Regions from separate parts of the Homo sapiens genome. Here region 1 is linked to region 2. The links are contacts of gene promoters, found by promoter capture Hi-C in blood cells and fetal thymus (Javierre and others, 2016). All regions are on one chromosome and are shown on one strand. Each heading gives the region's core, a stretch centred on a gene start or on the middle of the fragment in contact. The rest is flanking DNA. Distances are from core to core; before and after follow the strand shown.

What was found. The method cuts DNA at HindIII sites, captures the fragments that hold promoters and counts their contacts. A CHiCAGO score of 5 or more calls a contact.
Region 1: the fragment with the promoter of RPL26L1 here is called in contact with the fragment with the promoter of FBXW11 in region 2 in 4 of 17 cell types (monocytes, non-activated CD4 T cells, total CD4 T cells and 1 more); the score reaches 7.2 in monocytes.

What each region holds. Positions count from the first base shown.
Region 1 is chr5:172,957,585-172,962,347 of GRCh38, reverse strand. It overlaps RPL26L1 (ribosomal protein L26 like 1), which reads right to left and starts at 2,924. Exons shown (of 4, transcript NM_016093.4): 1 at 2,880-2,924; 2 at 2,307-2,483. The coding sequence starts at 2,474. It overlaps RPL26L1-AS1 (RPL26L1 antisense RNA 1), which reads left to right and starts at 2,980. Exons shown (of 4, transcript NR_026682.1): 1 at 2,980-3,058; 2 at 4,091-4,209. The HindIII fragment of the contact is 11,810 bases long and covers 443-4,763 here.
Region 2 is chr5:172,005,237-172,010,125 of GRCh38, reverse strand. FBXW11 (F-box and WD repeat domain containing 11) reads left to right here and starts at 3,488. Exons shown (of 14, transcript NM_001378974.1): 1 at 3,488-3,668. The coding sequence starts at 3,624. RefSeq lists enhancers at 1,094-1,721, 3,164-3,433, 2,977-3,604, 4,204-4,323 and silencers at 3,464-3,743, 3,754-3,863. The HindIII fragment of the contact is 14,963 bases long and covers 1-4,582 here.

The DNA.
Region 1 (4,763 bases), core at 1,675-4,174, 950 kb before region 2:
TTTAGTAGAGATGGAGTTTCACCATGTTTCCCAGGCTGGTCTCAAACTCCTGAGCTCAGGGGATCCACCCGCCTGGGCCTCCCAAACTGCTAGGATTACAGGCGTGAGCCATCATGCCCAGCCTGCCAAAGGTTTTAAATAGGACCTGATTTGCAAATAATACCACTCTGTGGAAAATGGACAAAGGTAAAAGAGGGAACTGCAATGCTGCCTTGAACTGGACAGGAAATAGGTTCAAGACTTACTTTGGAGGTAGAATCAACAAGCCTTGATGGTAGATTACAAGAGGGGGTTAAGGAGCGTTGTTAAAGATAACAAAGGTTTAGGGGCATATGCAGCTGGGGAGATATAAATGGCACTTACTGGAGATGTGGAAGATGGGAGTAGAGTTGGATTCTGGAGGCAGTGAGAGTGTTAGGATCAAGAGTACTCTTAAGAAGCTTGAAATGTCAATGGGCTACCTAAATAGAGATGTTCAGTAGGTAGTCAGATCTATAGGTCTGTGTTATAGGTAGTCAGATATACAGGTTGTCTAAAGTGGTCTGGACTGGGATATAAAAGAGGGAGTTGTTAGCACACAGCAGACATTTAAAGCTCTAAGAACGGATTATTACCTATTCTTTACCTACGTAGAGAACACAGAGCAGAAAGAGATGCTAGATGTGTCCACTGGATTCAGTCACGAAGGGATTATTAGTGATCTACGTCAAAGTAGGTTCTATAATGTAGTGGGGACAGGGAATAGACTGAAGAGAATCCAAGAGTGAATGGGAGATGAGGAAGTGTAGACAGCTCTCTTGAGGAGGTTGGTTATGAATAGAGAACAAAGTGTAGTAGCTGGAAGGAAATGTGGGCTAGGGAAGTGAATCCAAATTTTCCAGCTCTCTTTGAAAATCCAAGAATCTAACAATGGGCCTGCATTTCCCCCAGGCATCAATGGGCTAAAGGTAGATGATTATATCTTATATGTGAGGCTTGAGCTTTCCAGTTTGCCATTTTCTATCCCTACCTATCCCCTATAAGTATTTGCAATTCCCCCATTCTAGAACATGTCTGATGGGAAGGATCCAGGAGAGAGGGGGTTGAAACTGCTGATCATACCTCTGAACTACTCTTTCCACTCTTCCTGTCACACTTCCGGCTTAACTCCACATTTTTTCCTCCTTAACATATCCCCAAACCTTCAAAGAGTCCCAGTGTCTCAGATGATACACCAAGCCTCATCACCTTATGTCATTTCATTCTCTAAGACAATAGCTCTTAACTGAGTGAGGGAAGAGTTGATTTTGCCCCCCAGGGAGCATTTGGCAATATCTGGAAATATTTTTGCTTGTCACAACTGTGAAGGGAGGGAGTGCCACTGGCATCTAGTGGGGAGAGGCCAGGGACGCTGCTAAACATTCTACAATGCACAGGACAGCCCCCACCCCCCACCCCCCACAACAATTATCCAGTCCAACATATCAATAGAGCTGAGGCTAGGAAACCCTGCTCTAAAACGTGATCTCCATGAGAACAAGGGCCTCGTCAATCTTGTCCTAGAACAATCTCTGGTAAGTGCTCCATAAATATTCCTTTGAGGAATGAATCTAGCCCCTGCTTATTTCACTCATATCCAACTCCCTTCCCTCCTCTCATGCATTCTAAGCTCCAATCACAGAGAACAGAGGGCTTGTACGTTCTCACATGGGCCAGTCTTTTAGAAATTATGAAAGAGTGACTCGCTGCATCTTTACCAGTTCTCCTGCCAAATCCAATGCTATCACATGGCCAGCTCCCACAAATCTCTGTCCATCAATCCCACTACACCCAAATACACTAAAACACTACTCTCACTGCAGCACCTTCCCCTACAGTCTGGTTCAACAAGCCACCCTGGGCAACAACACTTGGCAAACTAGCAGCCAGAAGGTTAAATCAAAAGTATTTTTGGTGGGGCACGGTGGCTCACACTTGTAATCCCAGTGCTTTGGGAGGCTGAGGTGGGAGGATCACTTGAGGCCAGGAGTTCAGAGACCAGCCTGGGCAACATAGCAAGACCCTATCTCTACAAAACAAACAAAAAAGCAGGTTTTTGCTTGGTTGACATACTGTTTTATTAAATTTTACTATTACTATTAAATAATTAAATGCTCTAAAGCAACGCAGGCACTCTCTGGTGGCTCTGAACCCTATCTCTGGCCTAACACATCTGAAGGGTCACACTACTTTCCAGAGTCCTGAGGCATGTGAGTCTGTGACTGCTCCACGCATGACGTTCTTAGGCAACGGTGTCCGAGCGCCACTAGCGCCGGAGGGAGACGTACCTGGACCTCGTCGTCCTTGCGGATGGGCATGGAGCGGACATTGTACTTCTGCCGCAGCTCCTTGGAGAGCGGGGATGACATGATCTTCCTGCGCACGTGTGAGGGGGCATTGAAGTGACGTTTGCGGTTTTTACTGCGGTCCGAGGTAACGAAGGGATTGAACTTCATGGTGACCCTCTACAAAGGGCGGAGAGAGACGGAATGAAGGGGCGCTCAGTGGGTTACAGGGGCCTGTTCTCGACCCAAGACACTCCTCATCCCCCAACAAAGGCTCTACAGGGGAGGTAGCCTCTGAAAAGGCAACTGAGGGAGGACAGAGAGATGCGACTAGTCTGACTATCACATAAAGTGAGGCGTGTGTGGAGGTCGCATGCCCGTCTAAAGGGGTCGTGGGGGAGAGGGTAGCACTGGGACCTTGAGGCTGAGGAAGGAATGCTAGGGTTAGGCAGGAATGGGTGGTCGGGAGGTCACTCAAAGAGAGCTGTGGGGTGACATGTGTTCCCGCGACACATAGGGCAGGGTCTCACGGGGCGGTAGAGTTCACTGTCCGAGAAAACTCCAGCCTCCACTCACCCGGCTACTAGCTGCCTCAGACCCTGAGTGCGCAGGGCCGGAAGTGAGTTTCCGTGCCGCGCAAGCGCAGAAAGACATCGAAGCCCCATTTCCGTAGGAGCGAAGTCGAATGGCGCCCCCAGCGGCTTGGGGTGGGATCTCAGTGCCTCATTCCTGGCGGCCCCGGGAGGGCGATGCCAGTGAGTACAAGGGCCTGCTTGTGTAGGGCCTGCGGTAGAGGCTTACTGGTGTTCTTTTTTTTTTTTTTGAGACGGAGTCTCGCTCTGTCGCCCAGACTGGAGTGCAGTGGCGCGAGCTCGGCTCACTGCAAGCTCCGCCTCCCGGGTTCACGCCATTCTCCTGCCTCAGCCTCCCGAGTAGCTGGGACTACAGGCGCCCCCCACCACGCCCGGCTAATTTTTTGTATTTTTAGTAGAGACGGGGTTTCACCCTGTTAGCCAGGATGGTCTCGATTTCCTGACCTCGTGATCCGCCCGCCTCGGCCTTCCAAAGTGCTGGGATTACAGGCGTGAGCCGCCGCGCCCTCCTACCTCTACTTTTTTCTATCTCTGGGACTAAACGGCGGCCGGCGGCGTGCCTGCGGGTTTGTGGCCGCCGCCCCGCCCCTCTCTCCTAGACCCCGCCCCTCTCATCCAGTCCCCGCCCACTCCGGCCGCTCCGCGCCCACCTGTGGCCCTCTTGGCCCTTCTGCCCGTGCCTGGCCCCGCCGGGTCGCTCCCGAGCTCCGCGTTTCGTTCGCCGACCCCTGGAAGACTGCCTGGAGGCCCGGGCGCCACCCAACCACTGGCTAGGCCGACACTTTGCGCGGACCCTGGGTGTAAAAGGTCCCCGGGTCTCTGGTCCCGACGGAGCTGTGAGGGAGATCAACCACGCCCCCTCCGTGGGCACCGTGGCGGCAGGGAAGGAAAAGGGCTCTGGGTCTCGACTCTCTTCGGGTTAAGAACCGACGGGGTTTATTCTATGCAAGGTGTTATTAACTCCAACTCTCCCTTTCGTTCATTCATTCCATATATGTTGAACGACAACTTAGTGCCAAATGCCGGCATGCTGAAACTCAGAGAGGGAAGATGTCTTGCAAGTACAGCAGCCACACCCAGGCAGGTCCCGTGCTCTCTCTTAGTTTATCAGTGTTCCCTGACATGTAGTGGTGACATTGTTAAACACCTGCGTTTACTAATACTAGATTTTTTTTTTTTTTTTTTTTGAGATAGAGTTTCGCTCTTGTTCCCTGGGCTGCAGTGCAGTGGCACCATCTCGGCTCACCGCAACCTCCGCCTCCCAAGTTCAAGCGATTCTCCTGCCTCAGCCTCCCCAGTATCTGGGATTACAGGTATGCGCCACCACGCCCGGCTAATTTTGTATTTTTAGTAGAGACGGGGTTTCTCCATGTTGGTCAGGCTGGTCTTGAACTCCCGACCTCAGGTGATTCTCCCGCCTCGGCCTCCCAAAGTACTGGGATTACAGGCGTGAGCCACTGCGCCTGGCCTACTAATACTAGGTTTTATTCCGGGCCCTTCACAGTTAATGTTGGAGGCCTCTGGAGGATGGCCACACCTGGGCTATTTGCAGAAGCCTGGACAGCACAGCAGGCAGAGTTAAAGCAGTTAAGGCAGTATCAGCTGAAGGGCCACCCAGCTGTGCGTGTGCCCAGGCTCCAAGAATAAGGAGGTTGGGGGGCAGTCCTAAGAAAGGAAGTCATTACCTATCGGCAACCCAGGAGCAGACGCTGGCATAACGGCGCACACACAGTAAAGGTCAGAGGTTCTTCTTAGAATAGTCCTTAGGTGTTAGTCAAACCCATGCCCTGCCCCAAGGAGTTCATTCATTCATTCACTCATTCATTCACTCACTCACTCACTGGTTCTGTTTATTCACTCATTTCTC
Region 2 (4,889 bases), core at 2,239-4,738:
AGCTATCTGAAACACGGTGGGAAAATATGCCTCAGGGTGTTCTGCCTTTGTCTATGACCAAATCTAATCAACAGCTGCCATCAAGCCTGAAGCAATAAGAGCACCTGAGTTCTTGTTTGAGAAGAGGTGAGAGCAAGGTGATAAAGCCTTGGCTCAGCTTGCCTCTTACGTAGCTTGGATAAGACTTCTTTTATCATATATATAGTGTTTATTTATTTATTTATTGTTGTTGTTTTGAGACAGGGTCTTGTTCTGTCACCCAAGCTGGTCTGGTACCCAAGCTGGTCATTCTGTCACCCAGGCTGGAATACAGTGGTGCAATCATGGCTCACTGCACCCTTGACCTCTCAGGCTCAAGTGATCCTCCCACCTCAGCCTCCTGAGTAGTTGCAGCCACAAGCGTGAGCCATCATACTTGGCTAATTCCTATGTATGAGCTTTTAACCCCACTGAGCTCCTGGAATTTGACCTAATAATATTAGTACTTTTTTCCTTTTAAGGCAGCATACAATTTTCTTTTTTTTTTTTTGTAGATCATGGTGCAGCCACAGAGATGGTAGCCCCTCCCTATGCTCCCAGGTATACGATTTTAATAAAAGGACAGAAACCTTGATTTATCTCCACTACAGTTCCAATGCCAGGGGATGCAAACTCAAATATCTATACAGGTTAGGGATGCAACTTAAATGAGTGAAGCATGCAGATACAAGGCAAAAAGGAGTGATGGCAACTGTGGAAAACCATAGAATATATGCTTAAATAAAGGTAGTTGCTATTTAACCCCTGCATATTGTTGCCATGTAGATCTAATTGTCAGATATTCTAATTTTTCAAGAAAAGCTGGAAATTCAGATTTTGAAAACCTGAACATCAAATTTTAAAAACAGTAAAAAAGACGGTATAGGACAAACATATGTATGTGCCGGGTCGGCGGGGGGAGGGTCACATCCAGCTTGTGACTCCTACCCCATGCCTGTTTTTATGCCCCTGTACAATCCTTTCCCACACTGACTATGGGTGTGGCCATACTACTAGTTTTGGCCAACGGGACATTACCAAGTGTGGTGCATACCAGAGGTTTGATAAGCATTTGTTCACTGGGGCTTGTCCTTTCTCAAGTCACTATGCAGACGTTTGAATGATAAAAAGCCACAGGGAGGAGAGGCCCTAGAAGATGAAAAGTCATTTTGAATGAGTTCCCAGCTGATTGCATGTGGGCCCCGGCTGAGCCCGGGTCAGCCCACACAATTGTAAAATCATAATAAACCATTGTTATTCTAAGCTACTAAGTCTTCGGAGGTTTGTTGTGTTGCAACAGGTAACTGAAATAGAGGTCATATCTAATCCCTTTGTTTTACTAATGAATGTCCTAAGGGCCATAGTGGAACGGACCTGGTGAAATTCAGATAGCATGACAGTGGTAAGAACTTTCCAATTCTGTGCTCTTCCTATTGCTTTTCTTTCAATTCCCTTGGTGAAAAGCACCAGGTAAGGACTATGAAACTTCAAAGTCTACCTGCAGGGAACTTATACTGTGTCCTGAATGCATGCAAATTACTGTAACTTGGTCCTTGGTAATGGAAAGATTTCTAGGTCATCCAGCCTCTTTGACTTTATAGGTGCAGAGAATGCAAAAACACTTTGAGAAAGTGAAAAGCAGCCTCTGATATCTGGAAGCTGGCCTGGTACAATCAGCCATGCCATGATGTTACTAGACCACAGCCTGGCCCTTATAGCTAGGCTTTGTGTTTTCCTGTAGAACAAAAACAATTCCAAAGAACATCAACATCAGACGAGGTCATTCTGTGACCATGATAGATCCAGACAAATACAAGACCACTCTATAATCAGGTCTAAACACGATAAAAAGATAAAACCTGATGATTGTCCAAACCACAAAAAATGACTCAACATCCCCACTTGGCTAATATGAGGGAGCTGCTGCTGCACTTTTTTTTTTTTTTTTCGTTTTTGAGACAAGGTCTGGCTCTATCACTCAGGGTACAGTGGAGTGGTGCGATCTCCATTCACTGAAACCTCCACTTCCTGGGCTCAAGCGATCGTCCCACCTCTGCCTCCCAAGTAACTGAGATGACAGGCGCGCACCACCAGGCCCGGTTCATTTTTGTATTTTTTGTAGAGAAGAGTTTCGCCATGTTGCCCAGGCTGGTCTGGAACTCCTGCGCTCAAGCAATTCGCCTGCCTCGGTTTACCAAAGTGCTGGGATTACAGGCGTGAGCCACTGCGCCCGGCCAGGCTGCTGTTTCTTTATCTGCACAGCTTTAGCCTCAATCTAGAATTCCCTTCCTCTAGATAAGATGAACTGAGATGCTCAATCATGGAACGACCCTCTCTTCCTGACAGTATCTAATCCAGTGAAGCTCTCACTTCCTTAAACCCTCTCCCAAATCACTAACAACTCTTACCGAGAGGCCCTATCGTTCCTCAATGTGTGTTCTCAGTCACTGCAACTAGTAATAAACCCAGCTTGTTCAACGATCCGTGTCTTCCTGGTGGGATTTGGTTAGAGGGCACGGACAGACCTAAGTTACACAGAGTTGGAGGCTGAGTTCACTAGAAGGAGTCTCCGCTTGTGTGTTCCTTCTTAGCCACTCTTTTGGTTAGTGTCTGTCGTCCCTCCACCAGAATTAAGCTCCATGAGAACAGGAGCCTTGTCTGTCATGTTCAGAGCTGATTCTCAGCGCCTAGAACGGTACGCAGCGGAAGCTGGATGCTTAAAAAATAACCATTTTCTGAACGAATGAATGAGGGGCTCGATATACGCACGTCCCCTTTAATCTCGCAGCTCCTCGCAGATCGTGTGACATACAGACAGCACCACAGCACATTTCCCAAAACCCCGTCTTTCCCGAAGAAATCTCGAAACTCTCACTCCTGGGATGCCCATCCTCTCAGAGCCTCTTCCCCAGGCCGAGCTTCTCTCACTCGCTGGCCCCTTCCCACACCTGAGCCCCAGGTCTATACACCTTCCTAACGCACCTAGAACCCACCTGTCTCCACCATCTGCCCCTACCATCAGACACTGCCGGACGGGCCGCGCAGCTACCTAGGCGTCTAGGGAGCACTGCGGCATGGACCGCGCATGTGCGGAAATGGGTCGCATACGCAGGACCTCCGACAAGTGAGGAGTTGCCTCGGAGTTTCCGTCCCGGTCTGGGCAGCCTTGGGCTGCCAGGAAGTCAAGAGAAGCTAGCCGGAAGGACAACCCGGGCGCACGGCTTTCTGGGACACGTAGTCGTGGCGCTCTCGAGGCCCTGCCATGAGCAAGCTCTTAACTCTTCAGGTCTGCACGTCCTACGCCCACCGTCCAGTGCTACTCTCAGCTCGGAGTTCAGCTTCGGGCTGCCAAGAGCCAGCAACCTGGTGTCAGAGGCTCGGTCCCACAACGCTCTGCGGGCCGCGGCGCCTGCTGGGAGGTGTAGTCCCCGATCTGCGTACTGCGTTCGCCGAGGGGGAGGGCGGAGCTGCCGGCGGCCCGGGCGGGCTGGCAGCTAGAGTGGGTGCGATAGCCGCCTCCGCCTCTGCCGCCTCCGCCGTCGCCTCCTCCGCCCGGGCCGTTCGCTGCTGCGCGGGGAGAGCGAGGCGGGGCCGCCGGGGCCGCCATGGAGCCCGACTCGGTGATTGAGGACAAGACCATCGAGCTCATGGTGAGTGCGGCCCGCTGGACCGTCTGTGCTTCCGTCCGTCCGGCCCCGGGCGGGCCTGCCCACCTCAACGTCCGGTGCGAGGCCGGCTCTGGCCCTTCCCAGACGCCTCGACCCAGACCCGGGCCCCCAGCCTTCCCTGGCCTCGGACCTGGCGCGGGCTCCTCTGATCCCTCGACATCTCCGGCCGGTCCTGGCCCGGCCCCCTCCATGCCCCTCGCTTCTCCCCCTCCCCCTGGTCCCGTCTCCGGTCCCAGCTCTCGGACGACCCTCGCTCGTTTATGCTGTAGACTTAGGTCGCACTCGCTCTAGCACCCCATTCTCCTTCTTTTAGAAAGGGATTTTTTTTTCTTTCCTCTGTTTCGGCCCAGGCCCGCACCGCGCTTGCAAGCCCCACTCAGGCCGAGTGAGATGGTGGGAAGGAGTACGGAGATGGGTTGGGGCCGCCTGGGCCTCCGCGTCCTAGGAGAGGTCTCAGCACCCACTCCCCAGCCTAGGTCTGTGTGGATGCCAGGATAGGCCCTACAGAGCTGGGGGGGCAGGGAGCTTTCGGGTTTGAGGCTGTGGCGGATAAGGAGGCCTCTTTCCCGGGCCCTTGTGGTGTCCGGCTTCTCGGACAAAGGGTTTCCTACCCGGCGGAGAGGGATGTTTGCATAGCAAGGGCCCAGGTACTCTGGATTCCATCCTCCAGGAAAGAGAAGGCGCAACTTCACGTTTTCCAGAGCTGCTTTGGGAAATTGGAGATGACTGGGGAGGGAGCCATCCTCATCACTGCCGCGAGGTCTTTCTTCTCAGAAAGAAAAAAAAAAGAGGGGAATCCTTGGCCCCCGGGGGAAGCGACCACTCTTCTGTTAGAAACCACTGGCAGCCAGGCCAGACTCCCGGTCCGTGGACACCCTCCACCCTCCTCCGAAGCTTTAGGATTTGAAACCAGAAGGGGTTTTTAGGAACAGGACAGTGAGAGAGTGGCTAGAAGTGAAGAATTTGCTAATTGATGGATGATTTGGTGGAAGAAATAAAATATGGCAGATATTACCTGCCAACGTGAACATGAGGGAAATCAAATTGGGCTCTGGAGAGCTGGGAAGAGGAAGTCTGCATCAGCAAATGGACATGTCCAGGATTTCTTCCTATGGAAGCCTTGACAGTTTCTTTGTATCTTTCCTAACACGGTAACAACTTCTTCCCCAGGGTTGAGAGGAGAGGTGGAAGAATCTACTTAAC